Regions from separate parts of the Homo sapiens genome. Here region 1 is linked to region 2. The links are contacts of gene promoters, found by promoter capture Hi-C in blood cells and fetal thymus (Javierre and others, 2016). All regions are on one chromosome and are shown on one strand. The core of a region is centred on a gene start or on the middle of the fragment in contact, and the rest is flanking DNA. Distances in the headings are between cores, read along the strand shown.

Region 1 (4,207 bases), core at 69-2,568, 6.4 Mb after region 2:
CTAGCAGAGATCTGAGGAAAATATTCATCTTGCTCAAGTTAACCTAGAAAATGACAGGCTGTCTATTTTGTGCAATTTATTTATTTCTCAACTTTAAGGTTCAGAAATCTCTGTCCTGTAACAAGGTATCTGTTACCGGAGTCTGATTATTCTGCACTGTGTAGGTCATGTTTGTTATGAGGACACTTAGCAAACAAAGAAGGTTTTTCTCCGCCCTCAATAGCGTGGTAACGGATGACAGGACACCACTTTCAACGAAGGAGACAGACATTTCCCTGGCCTTTCTGAAGAGCGCTTTTTGGAGAGACAAACCTGTTGCTCAGGGGCTGAGCATTCCCGTGTGTTCTCCCTGTACTTCACCTAAAAATATGCCTGTTTTCCACACTGTGCACACCCGGGGGTGGGTGCTGGGCATACTCCACCTGCTTGTTTGCCTCCCGTTTTCTCATCAGGGAGTAAACACAGTAAACCTAACGCTCCAGGGGAAGGAAAAAACAAATCATTCAGGGCCCATCTCAGGTGACTGATGAATGCGGCACCGTTTTGAACGGGTACCTAATCTGGTCCAGATATGCCTGCTGGGGCTGCAAGAACCAAGACACGTTCAAGCACGTTTGCTCCGGCAAGCTTGGGCGAGCAGGTCAAGACCTCAGAGTTTTAGAAAGCAGGGGCGAAGTTTTCAAGCACGATGGGAACACCTGTAGGTGCAGGTGCCTGAGGGTCGGCCGACCACCTCGCATCTGAGGCTGGATCCGCACACGGAGAACGACAACTGCTCACAGGGACGTGCGTCCGGAGGAAAGTTGCGGTGAGTGTCTACCTGTTCGAGACAGGTGGCCGAGAAAGTGGGGCAGGGCTGACAATTCTTCCTCCGCAGTGTCCCGCGGGCTCCCCCTGCACTGGGTCCCCGGGGCCCCGGGCGCCCCAAGGTCACCTGCCCTCCTCAGCGCCCCCACCTTGCCCAAGCTCTCACCAGAACAGCAGGTTGGCAGCGACGAAGCCGAGCAGGCTCCGCAGCGGCCTCTTCCAGCTCAGCAGCTCGTCGGCGCGGCAGCCCAGCCACAGCACCGGCTCCCCGAGCAGCCAGGTTACCGCGGCCGCCGCCCGGCCCGCGGCCTCCTCCACCTGCAACCCCGCGCCCTCCGCCGCCCCAGCTTCCTGCGCTTCCTCCTCCTGCTGCTGCCGCTCTGCGGGGGATGCCTGGGGCGGTGGCGGCGACGGCGGCGCCTGCTCCTCGGCGGCAGGAGCCGGGCATCCCTCCTCGGCGTGCTCCGGAGGCGCCGGGCTCGCCATCTTCAGCTGTGCTTCCAGACAGGGACGGGGCCGGGCGCGCGCGCGGGCGCGCCTGGGTGTGGGTGCCGCCGAGGGCGGGGCGGCGGTGGCGGCAGGTCCCGGAGCGGGGCGCGCACCGCGGGGCACAGGCGGCTGGGGGCCTTGTGACGCCACAGGCCACGGAGGGGGAGCCGCCCGGGAAAGTGGGTGCGGCCGAGTTCGCGCAGGGGCGGGGCCGGGCGCCGGGAGCTGGGCGGTGTCCCCGGGGGGCTCTGGGTTCCTGGAGGGCCTCTCCGGGACTCGAGGAAAACGACCTTTTCCCTTGCAGCGGCGGGAGAGGGCGAAGTGGAGGACTGCTGCTCGGTTCCGTATCCAAAAGAGACCCAAGGCTCCAGGCAAAATAGATTGGACATTTTCACTTTCTCAAGCCAGGGCCACCGGTCGCCCAACCAGCAGCCACTGAGGGTGGTATCGGGGCGCCCCTTCCCCTGGCAGCGTATTTCAGCCCCCAGAGACATCCCCCACCTCGGCCATCCCCAGCGCCTTTGCAGGGACAGCAGCACAACCATAGCAGAGGTCCTGGGCATCCTGGAAATAACGTGCTGGTATAAATGTTGGATTGAGAAAGGAAGAAAAAACATTTGGGGTCAATTTGGGGCCCTCTCGTTTGACACGGGAGGAAACACAAGGCCGCAGCGTTGGGGGAAGCTGCTTCCTTTCTCTCTCTTCTTTCTCTCTGTCTCAGGTGCTTCCTTTCTCTTCTCTGTCTCTCTCTCTCTCTCTGCCTCTCCCTCTCTCTCCCCCGTCTCTCCCCCTATCTTCCCCTCTCTCCTCCTATCTCCCCCTCTCTCCCCCTCCTTGTGGCTAGGTGATCTGGCTCAGAAGTGCACGTTGGCCCGCGCGTGCGGGGAGCTGAGAAGCAAGAGATTGGAACTTTGCACGTGTCAAGCAAGGTTTGGCCTGCTTTGAAGACAGTAATTTCAGAGCCACTCCGGTCTCTGCGTCACAAGCGGGCATCAGGGCAGTGGTGGGGCGGCAGGGGATCCTGAGACCTCCCATGCCCTCTCTTTGGCCCCGGTGCTTCTGGGTGAGTGTGGGGAGAGAGGAAAATAGTTGTTTATGCTTTTCACCATTTGCATTTTTAAATTTTTGTCTTCTTTAATCTTCCTGGTCTTACTTTTACTCTAGAATGACAGGTCCTTCCCCCCCATACTAAGGGTTCTGTCTGCGGATGCATCAGGGCATCTCATATCCCTTTACTGGCAACCAGCCTGCCTGCACAGGATGGAAGGGAGGGCAATTAAATTCCCTGCGTCAAGGGAGTCTCTAGGGGAATGTTCTGTAACGCTCCTCTGGGTGGCCATTGTAAACCTCTGTGTATACACACGTGGAATCCATTGATCTGTACATTCACTGCAGGTGTCTGCACTTTACTGCTTGTATGTTGTACTTCAAAGGAGTTATATTCCCAGAGCCCAGGCAAAGGCTTACTGAGCACCTACCGAGTACACAAAGCATTGCTAAGCTCTGTGGATGCAGCTTCCACCCACAGGAAGCTCCCAGTCTGATGAGGGCCCAGTTACAATTGTGATATCTGCCACAGCGAAGAAGCCTTCGCTAAGTGCTAAGAGATTCCTTACTTAAACTGTGCATCCAAAATTAGGGGAGGAGTGGAGGGATCAGGTTTCAAGAGCGTTTTGTAATAAATGGCCTCTGCCCTAAATTGTAGGGCCCCCATTAGTGTGGGGATTGGGGACAGGGGCAATAACTGCTGTTGGGAATTCAACAGGAGAGGAGGCATGGGGTTGCAGGTGGAGACGCACAGTTCCTTAAGTAACTCACCAAAGGGAATAGTGGACATTGAATGGTCTCTAGTAACAGGAGGCTTGGTTTTTAACTAAAGGTGATACAGAACATCTGGCATTTCCGACTCCCCTTCTTAGGAGTATCCTGACAACCCGATGGAAAGTGGCCTGGGTGTCAAGGAAAAAGCAACGTGGAAACAATTCAGGTTTCTTCCATATAAGAGAGACAATCTTTTCCCAGGTGTGGGTCCTCCCTCTTGGCAGTAGCGGAGAAGTTTTTGAAAGATAAATGATGCTTTTATTGTGTCATTTGGCCTTTGTTTGGCGCTTGATACAGCCCAGGGTTTGCTATTCTAAAATCTGTCACTAGACAGATGTGTGCTGCAGCCAGTGTGGAGAACATGGGGCAGGAGAGAGGAAGAACCAGGTGTCCCCGTTCCCCAGACCAGTGCTGATGTGCTACCAGAAATGGGTTTGCAAGATTAATCACCTTCCTCCTGCTTCCCTTGAATTCTAATTATTGTTGTCAGGATCTGTTGAAGTAGTAAAAGCTGCTGGCAACCAAGACACATAAAAGCTAAGCTCCAGTTGCTGTGTGTGGTTTCCAACACTTATTTATTATCTCTGTTTAATAATAAACCTCCTTCCCCACAGCTATGTGTTGTAAAGTCTATCCTTTCTCTCTCTCTCAAAATTACTATGGAGAAAATGCTATGCAACCTGTTTTGCATAAAAGGCTGGGCTAATTAACCTTTCCTTTTCACCTCCGACCTCTAATACTTACAAACTGTATGACAGAAGTAGACACTGGCATAGACATACAAATGGTGCTGCTGGGTGGGATTTTGTTGTTGTTTTGTTGTTTGTCTAATGATCTTTGTGATGCTTGAGTAATTTATTCAGGGCTAAGATTACAGAAACATAATGCTAACAATGGTTGAAATCAACCTTGTCCCCTAGTTTTAAGAACACGCCACATTCTTGAACTCCTGCAAGTAATCTTACTAAGATTCTCTTCTGAAATTTTATTGCTATATATTAGGAACAGAGTGATTAACACTAGTGAGCTAGATGATTTGACAATATATATCTGAGAAAAGGAAACTGGAAACGTGTCTGAGAAAAAAAAA
Region 2 (4,649 bases), core at 573-3,072:
AATAGTAACTAGCCACGTGTTTAAAGCGGGCTTATATCAGAATGTCACAACTCATAAGGACTGTTCATTGTGCACTTGTATGTGCATACCTGTTTAATAACTACAGCATATGTTATGTCCCTTTAGCATATATTCTTATGTCCTTAAGAAGCCTTTCTTATACTAGTCTAATGTCATTTGTGTCCTTTTGACATACATGAGCTATTGATATTAGGAAAAATCCTCTCTCACTCCCCAGTGTTTTGACAGGGAATCAACTACACAGAGGATGCCATAGGACATTCTATTTTTCACAACAATCGAAGGAGCCAAATGAATTGCAGAAGTCACCATTTTTAATGAGGAAACACTGAATTGGCAAAGCTAACGTGAAATAAGACCTGACTCCAAAATCTAAAATGTCCTTGAAGAACACTTCAAGGTCTAGCGCGTAAGTATGCCAAGCATGAAGAGTTAACAGATCACCAACCATCCCATGACAGTCAGTCCTCCCTGTTTTTAGAGACAGAATCTCGCTCTGTCGCCCAGGATGGAGTGCAGTGGCGCGATTATAGCGCACTGTAAACTGAACTCCTGGGCTCCACCCATCCTCCTGCCTCAGCCCCAGAGTAGATGGGAACACAGTCGCCAAGTCTGTTCTTGAGTTTCAGGACAGGGTCAAATGTTATAGTGCATGTATTCATTTCAGCACTTATTGAGTGCCTAATAAAGTCTGGGAATAATACAACTTTATTAGTTAAGTCCCTGCCCATGGCAGTAGGGGAGAAGCAAGGATGGAAACCCTCAACAAATAAATCTAAACCTATCAAATATTAAGTCATGATCTTGGAGGGCGGGGAGGAAGGCAGCATAAGAGATTTAGAGGACAGCTGCGGTTGCCAAGATCTTTCTGAGGCAGCATAATACAGGGCTTAAGAGTGAGACCTGCCGGGCACCGCGGTGGCTCAGGCCCAACACTTGGGGAGACCTAGACGGGTACATCACTTGAGGTCAGCCGTTCGAGACCAGCCTGGCCACTACGGCGTTAACACCGTCTCTACTAAAAATACAAAAATTAGCGAGCGTGGTGGTTCTGTGCCTGTAGTCCCAGCTGCCTGGGAGGCTGAGGCACGAGAATCACTGGAACCCGGGAGGCGGAGGCTGCAGTGAGCCGAGACCGCGCCACTGCACTCCAGCCCGGGCTACAGTCTTGTCTCAAAAAAAAAAAAAAAAAAAAAGAGTGTGGGACCCATTGCATCAGGCTGTGTAACTGTTTCTTACTAGCTGTATACCAGTGGCAAGTTACTGAACCATTTGTGCAAAATGTTAATTTATTTACCAACACTGTGTTCAGCTTGCCAGGCACCGTTCTCCTTGAATCTCACAGCAGCCCTGTGAGTAGGCACTACTGTTACCACCGTCACTTTGCAGACAGGGAACCCGAGGGACAAAGAAGTTAAGGGATTTCCTCAAAGCCACAGCTAGGAAGAGCGGCAGAACTGCGATTCCAATCCATCAGTGTGCCTCCACTATCCCTATTCCTTAAGATCGTGCCAAAGGCTGAGTCACTTGCACTAAGTAGCCTAGAACAGTCTCTGGGGAAACGCGCCCGCCGACAAGGATCGCCAGAACCGGCGCGGGCACCGCGCGGCGACCAGGAGCTCTGGTCACCGAAGGCCAGGCTGGAGGCCAGAGCAGCCGCCCGCACCCGGTCACCGCCTCGACAGTGGAGACCTCAGCTGACCGCGAGCCCCCGGCCCGCCCGCACCCCTTCTCATGCCCCCAGGAACCCGCCAAGCCGCTCCAGCCTCACCTCCTCCTCCCTCCATCGCGAGATTTCCAACAGCGTTTTTAAAAAAAAAAAAAAAAAAAAAAAAAAAAAAAAAAAAACCGGAAATGGGTCCTACCATCTTCTCGGAGCCGGAGTGCGAAGAAATAAAGAAATAGTGCTTTAAGTCAATGAATTCCTCCTTGGGACCCACTATCGAGAAACTATCAGTGGTAACGTTTTAAAAAATGACAAATTCAATCTGCTCTTGACTTGTGTGTCCTAAGATTTCCACTAAGTGTCTTCAAACCTCCCCCTCCCCGGCTTCCTGGATAATAGAAGTTCCCGAAGGCCGCCGATTCCAGAAGATACTGTCTGGCGTGAAATTAGTCTCAGTAGAAACATAAGTCCCGCGCGTCTTGTGCTGCGCGTGCGCAAGCTTTTGGGCCCTCCCGAGAAAGGGAAGTGCATTCTCGCTTCCGTAGCGGTCTCCGCCGGTTGGGGGGAAGTAATTCCGGTTGTTGCACCATGGCGTCCATGGGGACCCTCGCCTTCGATGAATATGGGCGCCCTTTCCTCATCATCAAGGATCAGGACCGCAAGTCCCGTCTTATGGGACTTGAGGCCCTCAAGGTAATGGCACAGGGACCTGCTCGCGGTGGGCTAAGGGGAGGTGGCCGAGGCCGTGGCTCTGCGCCTGCGCGAGTTGAGGAGCGGCTCTGCCATGTGCTCCCCGGAAAGGTCGAGAATCTCCGTCTCCCTGCGGTCTCCGGCCGCTCAGCCCGCTTACTGAGCTCGGGAGACGCCGGCGCCTAATCCTGGGCTCGGAATGTGGGGGCCAGCCAGGCTGGGCCGCCAGCGCCCTTCGGAGCTGGGTGGGGCCGCTCAGTCCGGTCGCCCGCGGGAGCAAAGCGGGACCGCCTCCCCGCCCGGCTCCTCCAGCCTGACGGCCGCGTGGGACTGCGCTCCAGTGGGAGGGCGCCGGGGAGATGCTCTGTCACCTGTCGGTTAAGGCGCTGCTGCTTAACCTTTCGCTGGTCCACCCGCAACGGCCCTTCCGTTTTCTTTGTCACTCGTAAAGGTGTGGTCACTTAACAGGGTATTTCATTTCTGAGTGCTTTTTTGCCCACCCTTGAGGAAAAATAGCGAAGAGTGAAAAACGGACGCACATAACCGTAATACAAGGTGGTGTGCAGTGAGAAGGACAGCTACGGAGAGGGTGCACATAAGCGTGGTGCTGGAGGACAGCTTTAGATCGGGGTGAGAGGTAGCATTCTAGGGAGAGGAAACGGTAGAAGTAAAGGCTTGGGCAAGAATGCGCATGGCACGTTGTAGAATGGAAGAGCCATCCGGTTTTAATGGAGCACTGACTTCTTTAACTTACAATAGTTCCCGAAGGTGGAAGCTATTGAATGCCCAACATGGAAAATACGACGTTATCTTTGGGGAAGAAGGGGAGCCATTGAGGGGGTTTTGAGCAGAATTTCAGTAGAGCTGCACTTCAGGCAGCAAAGCTTGAGATAGACCGAAGGGAATAAGGAAGACCAGAGGGGTTAAAGAAACCAGGGCAGGGGTGCAGGTAAGAAACATCTGAGCACCAGACGTTGACAGAAAATGCAGAGGAAGGGACACTCCGAGAGGGCCTTCAGGGTTTGTTATAAAGTGAATTCATAATAGACCATTCCACTAGGTCTCTCAGGTGTCCCTGTTCACTTAGTGTCTTGGAGGTTTACTTACGCAAAGTTAGAAACAATACAGTTCCCCTATGGACTCTTTGTTTGACTTAGTGCTAGTTACACAACCTCGCGGAACCTCCTTTTCCAGGGGGAGGTGATAGGCCTCCGTCAAGCTGAAGACTTGACAGTGATATTAAATGGAGTGACTTAGAGGGGCTGCACAGTGGTTGATCCACGGTAGGCACTCAGTATTTGTTTCCTTTCTAGAAAGAAAAAGTTTCAAGCTAATTGTATTATGTATTCCATTTTATTTTCCACTTAACAGGGACCTGCAGAGAAAATAACATCCAATACACACACCTGGTGTAACAACATAACTAAAACTAGGTTGTTTTGCATCAGCCATTTTGTTCAAACTGCATGCATTTGTGCCCAGAAGTCGCACACTCTGAGACAGGGTTATTTTACAAAACTGGGGACTTGGGCCCAGAGCAGTTGAGAAATTGTTCTGAAGAGCAGTTGCTACTAAAGAGCATTACCATGGTCAGGGCCACCGCTGTCAGAGTCAAAGCCAGTGGTCTAGAGCAGCATTCTCAAGTTTGGCATATTGACATTCGAGGTCGGATCATTCTTTGCTGTGGGAGCTCATTTGGACAGTAACCTGGGTGTTTAAGTCTCTTAAAAGAGTTGGATGCTGTTGGTAGGCATCCTGTGAGTGTTGAGGCTCAGCAGTTTAGGGATATACACTTGCTCCCTGACCTCATAGAACGTCCAGCTAACTTGAAGAACCAAAATATATGGAAATTGAAGGCAACGGTAAAAGAAATGTATAGGCCAGGACGTGAACGTTTTAATGGTAATGGTCACAGTTCTTTCTCTCTGGTCATTTAGAGCCTTAAAGGTAATATGTATTTTGTTGAGATTCTTCACTTGTTTAACACTTAACTGTATAATATTTCACCTTAAAAATGCAGGCATTGACTGGGCGCGGTGGCTCACGCCTGTAATCCCAGAACTTTGGGAGGCTGAGGCAGGAGAATCGCTGGAACCTGGGAGGCAGAGGTTGCGGTGAGCCGAGATCACGCCACTGCACTCCAGCCTGGGTGACAGAGTGAGACTCCGTCTCAAAAAAAAAAAAAAAAAGGTGCAGGCATTAGTTGGCTTAGGAAGGAATCATATTCTAAAATCCTGTAACCTAAAACAGAGCAGGCTAAGTTTCCAGGCCA

The links. The method cuts DNA at HindIII sites, captures the fragments that hold promoters and counts their contacts. A CHiCAGO score of 5 or more calls a contact.
Region 1: the fragment with the promoter of RETREG1 here is called in contact with the fragment with the promoter of ATPSCKMT in region 2 in 3 of 17 cell types (naive CD8 T cells, total CD4 T cells and naive CD4 T cells); the score reaches 9.7 in naive CD8 T cells.

Annotation. Positions count from the first base shown.
Region 1 is chr5:16,615,679-16,619,885 of GRCh38, forward strand. It overlaps RETREG1 (reticulophagy regulator 1), which reads right to left and starts at 1,319. Exons shown (of 9, transcript NM_001034850.3): 1 at 974-1,319. The coding sequence starts at 1,293. RETREG1-AS1 (RETREG1 antisense RNA 1) reads left to right here and starts at 248. Exons shown (of 4, transcript NR_109946.1): 1 at 248-808. RefSeq lists a silencer at 1,073-1,562. The HindIII fragment of the contact is 3,701 bases long and covers 626-4,207 here.
Region 2 is chr5:10,248,066-10,252,714 of GRCh38, forward strand. ATPSCKMT (ATP synthase c subunit lysine N-methyltransferase) reads right to left here and starts at 1,823. Exons shown (of 5, transcript NM_199133.4): 1 at 1,793-1,823. The coding sequence starts at 1,808. It overlaps CCT5 (chaperonin containing TCP1 subunit 5), which reads left to right and starts at 2,215. Exons shown (of 11, transcript NM_012073.5): 1 at 2,215-2,380. The coding sequence starts at 2,276. RefSeq lists silencers at 1,593-1,712, 1,723-1,782, 2,533-2,602, 2,673-2,812, 3,143-3,365. The HindIII fragment of the contact is 6,282 bases long and covers 1-2,184 here.